Regions from separate parts of the Homo sapiens genome. Here region 1 is linked to region 2. Evidence: promoter capture Hi-C in human tissues and cell types (Jung and others, 2019). All regions are on one chromosome and are shown on one strand. The core of a region is centred on a gene start or on the middle of the fragment in contact, and the rest is flanking DNA. Distances in the headings are between cores, read along the strand shown.

The links. The method cuts DNA at HindIII sites, captures the fragments that hold promoters and counts their contacts. A contact is called where the count stands out against the background at its distance.
Region 1: a fragment that was not itself captured here is called in contact with the fragment with the promoter of GLO1 in region 2 in 1 of the 25 tissues and cell types used here (dorsolateral prefrontal cortex).

What each region holds. Positions count from the first base shown.
Region 1 is chr6:37,356,547-37,359,890 of GRCh38, forward strand. The region is part of intron 1 of RNF8 (ring finger protein 8); the gene reads left to right. Among named protein-coding and RNA genes, the nearest start is that of RNF8, 4.2 kb to the left of the region's middle. The HindIII fragment of the contact is 4,796 bases long and covers 1-3,344 here.
Region 2 is chr6:38,701,350-38,704,550 of GRCh38, forward strand. It overlaps GLO1 (glyoxalase I), which reads right to left and starts at 1,796. Exons shown (of 6, transcript NM_006708.3): 1 at 1,622-1,796. The coding sequence starts at 1,705. RefSeq lists enhancers at 938-1,530, 1,563-1,612, 1,633-1,732, 1,913-2,072. The HindIII fragment of the contact is 19,947 bases long and covers 1-3,201 here.

The DNA of each region.
Region 1 (3,344 bases), core at 483-2,982, 1.3 Mb before region 2:
TGCATAGAGTTTGGTGGAAAAACAAGTAGAGATTTATTGCAAATTAGCTAGTTCTCAGGTACTATAAAGTATCTAGGCCTTTGGGGAAAACAACAGAACCTTCTCTCCCCTTTTCTTCTCTTGTATTTAGTTTTCATTAAGTTTTCTGCCCCAAGGGAAAAAAGGGAAAGGATGGTTATATTTACTGGTTTGGGGGCTTTTTTGTGGGGTGTTTTGTTTTGAGACAGAGTACTCCTTCTGTCACCCAGGCTGGAGTGCAGTGGTGTGATCACACCTTCACCTCCCTGGTTCAAGTGGTTCTTCTGTCTCAGCCTCCGAAGTAGCTGGGATTACAGATATGCACCACTATGCCCAGTTACTTTTTGTGTTTTCAATAGAGGTGGGGTTTCGCCATGTTGGCCAGGCTGGTCTCGAACTCCTGGCCTCATGTGATCCGCCCGCCTGGGCTTCCCAAAGTGCTGGAATTACAGGTGTGAGCCACCACACCTGGCCAGATTTACTTGTTATTTGAGAAACAGTAGGAATTGTGCCCAGGAGGAAAGAGATAGTCTTAGTGAAGGTGGGCAAAGACAGGATGATCTTTTAGATCAATAATGTGTGTAAGCTCAAAGGCTTGCAAAACTATTGTAAATGAAAACAACCCCTCACATATGGGTCGTCAGTCAGTTCCCACGGGAAATTCAGTGTTATGTTGAGTGGTCCTGAGATTTCCAGGTAACCTCACTGCACTCTTTAACTACAGTATAGGTGAAATATCAGTAGTACCAAGGTAAATTCTAAGACCAGGCAGTGCAGGGAAGGATGTAAAAGAATGATTCCTTTTTCTGGGTTCAGAGTCTGTTGGAGGCAATGTCAGGAAAAGGCACTCTTCTACTGTTTTGGTACTGTTTTCCCCTGGCTACTCACAATGGCAGTCTGGCTGTCTCCCCTCAAGTATTAGCATGTAATATGAGATGCTTCCTCTCTTAGAGATAAAGCTACCTAAATAGAAATTTTACTGAATATGGACGACAGATAAATCCCTAGCCATTCCATTTTTAACAGATATGTGTATTCAGAGGAACTTCTATAATTAATATAATTCTGGCAGAGTGTGAAAGAACTGAAAAACTTTGTGCTCAGTGTTGGTGGAGTGATCACCACAACATTTTAAAGAGAAACAAGTGAGACTGTATGAGTTCCAACTGCTGCTCCATATTTTCCAATGGTAATACAGTCTCTAACTTCTGACCTAAAAACACCCACCCTAAAATCTTGAGGACTCATATGCAAGACCTCTTTATTCTTTCATTCATTCTCAAATACTTAACTGAACACTATGCCAGGTATAGAAACACAGTGGTAAACAAGACAGATAAAGTCCCTGCTTATCTAATTTATATTCTATTACGGGGACAGAGGGGAAAAGTAAAATAAACAAGATAATTTTGGTCTGTGATAAGTACTTCCTAATAACTGAAGAAATATGATGGGAAGCAGACAACCAACTTTAGACAGAGGTAATCAGAGTAGGCTTATGAGTAGCTGGAACATGAAAGATAAGGAGCCTGTGCAAGATCTGAGAGAAGAGTGTTCTTAGCAGAGGGGCTAAGTGAAAAGACCCTCAGGTAGGCTGGCACTTCGGGGAGATGGGCTTAAGGAACAACAACAACAAAAAAGTTTGAGGGGCTGGAGCAGCTAGTGTTGGCACTATGGTATGAGTTAAGACTAAAGAGTAGAAGGGCTCAGGACATTCAGGGTCTTATAGGCCATGGAAGGAAGTTTGAATGATTGGACAGTTTTAAGGAAAGAAGGAAAATGACCTGATTTAAAATTTTTACATTTCTATTCCAGTTACTATTATAAAGCTTATGGGGGCTAGAGTGAGAACAGAAACAGTAGGAGGCCAGGTGGTTTGGACTAAGGCTGTGGCTGCAGAGATAGGAATGAACAGACTTAGGACATATTTGAATTATAGCCCATATAATTTACCAGTGATTTCAATGTGGGGATGAGGGACAGAGATGAATCAAAGATGGCTTCTGGGTTATGGGTTGAGTAGTTGGTTGGATAGTATTGTGAATACTGAGATAAGAGTTTGTGGGGAGGAATAGATTAGGTCAGTGAGTCGTGGTGGTCTTTGAGGGACTGAGGAGGACAGGCATTCTGAAAGATTTTAAAGAGAAGAGAAGAGGGCAGTTTTAGCTAACTTTGGTTTAAAGTTCCCAGTTAAGGTTGTGATATGGGACATTAAAGAGGTCGTTTGTGCACTAAGAAGAATATGCAGGGAGCCGGGCGCGGTGGCTCACACCTGTAATCCCAGCACTGTGGGAGGCTGAGGCAGGCAGATCACTTGAGATCAGGAGTTCGAGACCAGCCTGACCAACATGGTGAAACCCCGTCTCTACTAAAAATACAAAAATTAGTTGGGTGTGGTGGTGCGTGCCTGTAATCCCAGCTACGTGGAAGCTGAGGCAGGAGAATTGCTTGAACCCGGGAGGCAGAGGTTGCAGTGAGCTAAGATCGTGCCACTGCACTCCAGCCTGGGTGATAAAGCAAGACTCTCTCAAAAAAACAAAAAAAAATTAACAAACAAAAAAGAATAAGGGAATTCTGTGATCTGGAACTCAGAAGAATTTCATTTCCTTCCTTCACAGGGTTGTTATGAACTAGACTGGTCCAACAGGAAAGTATGATAGATGTGAACTGGGGCTTCTTTTCAACCTTTTCCGGAAGCTCTCAAGCTGTTCTTGTGGATAAGACAGAGAATATGTACTCCAATGCAAAGACTTTTGGTTGAATTATAACTGGCTGAAGGTATATCCAGATGGTGTGGGTTAATGTTTACTAGGTTTTCCTGAAAACTTTGCCTTTGGCTGCATCCCATTCTGTGTCTTGAACGAAGGTATAGAAGGCATCATCTCATAAATTTGGTGGAAGAGATATTAAGTATGTCTGATCTGATGGCAGATTAAAAATTCAGAAAGGTCTTGACAAATTGGTTTGATAGGCTGAACTAGCAAGATGAAATTTAATAGGAATCAATCTAAGGTCCTGCGCTTGAATCCAAGGTTTTCCATCCAGTCAAGTATAGAGCAGAAGAGACAGGACTTAGGATAGCATTTCTTGGAGGAGGGGGAGACCAAGAAATTTAATCATTCCTAAGTTCGAGGATACACTGGCAGTGTACTAGATCTGCTATGAAAGCTAATGCAATTTATATGCTCCAGTGATAATATCTAGAACTGGGAAAGTAACACTTGCGTTTGACTGTGTAATAGAAATTAAGTTTATTTTTCTTAATATGCCATCCAGGAATAAAGATAAACCAGCAGTCCCTTCACAGACTCATTAGAATGGCAAAG
Region 2 (3,201 bases), core at 546-3,045:
GTATTCCATTTTATGTCTCCCATGGCCAAAAATTACTGATCTCAAAATTAATTACTCCGAATCATCAAGAGAAATTTAGATACTGTGGAATGTAAATTAAGCTGCAAGGACATTTACTTAGTATATTTTATAAAGATATCCCTGGAATCCTTTTTATTTGAAAACCCCATTACATAAAACCCCTAGTTATCTGGGAAAATACTTTACACTGAGTGACTCAATTTACATTATATGAAAAAACCAGGTATTAATATTAAGGGATATACAAGTGAGATGGGCATGACGGAATTTTTTTACCTTCCCCCTTAATTTTGCAATGACTAACATTTTTCCTAAGCCAAGTACCAGGTGCTAGTCAAAAGTTTTAGCAATGAGATGTGTCTGACTCTTTGCCCTGAAGGTAAAGAACAAGCAGGGACCAGAGTCATGGACCACTTATCTACCCCTTTTAAAGGTCTGCACGAAGCACATATTCAATCTTCAAGGAATTTACAAATGATGTAGTCAAATAAATAAATACAAAGGTGTTTACAGACACTGATGACTTCACTGGAATAAACAGCGGTTACTGTGCCTGAATTTTTTTTTTTTTTTTTTTTTAGACAGAGTCTCACTCTGTCGCCCAGGCTGGAGTGCAGTGGCACGATCTCAGCTCACTGCAAGCTCCGCCTCCCGGGTTCATGCCATTCTCCTGCCTCAGCCTCCCGAGTAGCTGGGACTACAGGCACCCGCCACCACGCCCAGCTCATTTTTTTGTATTTTTAGTAGAGACGGGGTTTCACCGTGTTAGGATGGTCTCTACCTCTTGACCTCGTGATCCGCCCGCCTTGGCCTCCCAAAGTGCTGGGATTACAGGCGTGAGCCACCGCGCCCGCCAACTGTGTCTGATCTTAACAAGGCAACCGAAACACCACACCTGAGTGAGTTACACTGATTCTTACCCAGTAAAGACATGTTCGGTAAGTGAAAGCCTTTGTATGCAACAGGTCATTTCTCTTACTGGGTCATTACTGTAAAACGAGAGGGTAAGAGAAGGAATTTCTAAGATTCCTTTCAGATCCAAACTCTATGATTCTGTAATCTCTCCTGGGCCCCACGAAGATGAGGAAGGCAAGAAGGGCTGTTGTGACCCACAGCAAAGGCCAAGCAAGCAAAAGTGAAATTCTGGGCGCGGTTAAACTTAGAGCGATCAAATTAGTTTGCAGGAGTTAAGACTGCAGTCAGGGTGGTAAGGAAAAACGAGGCTGGGCAGGACTGGTACAGGACAGGCATCTTTGAACCTATTTCTGGGAGTTCTGAAACTACTGTTCTCGTGGGCCTTGGCGACTGATTTGGGAAAGCTGACCCTGGGTTGGCCTGGCTTCCAGCCACCGTCGCAACATAAACAAGCCAATTCAAAACAGGGTCGCAGTCTTTGAAACTAGCTGAGGCAACAGATCCCCTCCACACTTCGCGGGCCCCACGATCGCCCCATCAAACACCATTATCCCTCTTCCCATCACACTCCCGTCCGCCCGAGGCCGGCGGACCTGCAGCGGCGGCGGGATGGGGTTGGATAGAATGCGGCCCGGTCCCGGCCCAGCGGAGCTGGGGGAGCCGTTCCCTTCGGTCCTGTGCCCACCTTGGTACTGGGGTCCGCGTCGGAGCAGCAACTGAGGGCGGCCTCGTCCGTGAGGCCGCCGGACGGGGGCTGCGGTTCTGCCATGGCTGCGCTGCAGTATCACAGACGACGGGACCCAAGGAACGGAGGAGTCACCCACACTACGCCTCGGCCCTGTGCCGCCTTAACTAGGAATGGCGCGATGGCGCCGCGGGCGGGAGACCGCTGACTTCCAGCCAATCGCTGCGCGGAGAGCAAGTTGACTCTCTGCTGATTGGGTCCCAGTGAGTCAGCGCCTCCACCCACAGGACTATGCCTCAGACTACAACTCCCAAGGAGCCTTGCGCATAAAGGAGGCAAACTCATACAAAAAAAAAAAAAAAAATGCAGGCTGGGCAGAGTGGTTTCTCTGTTACTTAATGAGCTAATTTTGTTTGTTTAACTAAAGTTTGGTAACCATTCATACCTCAGGGCTGCAATTTGGTAGAAAATTGGAATCTGATGGAAACTGAAAACTGTAAGTTGTTCTTTTAAAATTGTAAGGATTCAGAGGTTTCTCAGTTTACGCAGCGCAGAGTAATTAAAACAATTGTTGAGTCGAAAACCTATGTTCAAGTCTTGGTTCCGCTATATATTAGCGCTAGAAACTTGCAATAATTACTGACCCTCTCTGAGCTTCCTAACAGGATTTGTTGAGAATTAAATAAGTTTTCTTTTCCTTTTTCTTTTTTCTTTTCTTTCTTTCTTTCTTTTTTTTTTTTTTTTAATTTTTTTAACAGTGTCTCGCTCTGTCGCCCAGGCTGGAGTGCAGTGGTGTGCTCTCAGCTTACTGCAGTCACTGCTGCCTCGACTTCCGGGGCTCTAGCTGTCCTCTGGCCTCAGCCTCCCGATTAGCTGAGACTACAGGCTGCAAAACCAAGACCAGTTAATTTTTGTATTTTTTTGAGATGGGGGTTTCACCATGTTGCCCAGGCTGGTCTCAACTCCTGGGCTGAAGTGACCCTCCCGCCTCAGCCTCCCAAAGTGCTGGGATTACAGGTGTAGCCACTGTGCCCAGCCTAAATGAGATTTAAGTCATGGTTTGCCTACTTAGGTTCCAAATGTCCATAACTTGCAGTACTTTTTACATTAATATATATTTTGTGTTCACTGGAAGGCTTAGTCATCACTGTGTCTTCAATGATTGGCTCATAATAGTAGATGCTCATTAAATACTTCCTGTTGTTAAAAGAATAAATGGGAATGACTGGTGCTCACCTAACCAAAATGAGGTTGGGCAGGGATGTATATGGCACTAGCCACCTGGCCACCACCAAGATGTCCCCGTCTCTCATCTCAGCTTTTTTCTGCATCGCAGCTTCAGTTTGTCAGACACCAGCTCCATAAGACTAGAAATTTGGCAGCTGTTCTCTCACTAGGAGTGGGAGTAAACTCTCCCTCTGGATTTTATCCAGCCAGCCTGGATTTTATCAAATTGGAAAATCCAAGAAGGAGCTGTGATTGGCCTGGCCTAGGACCTGTGCTTACTCCTGTGATTGAAGCACTGCGATTGGCAACCTGGATTAGGACCACCTGATTGGAGTTTGGGGAGGATCTGTTAG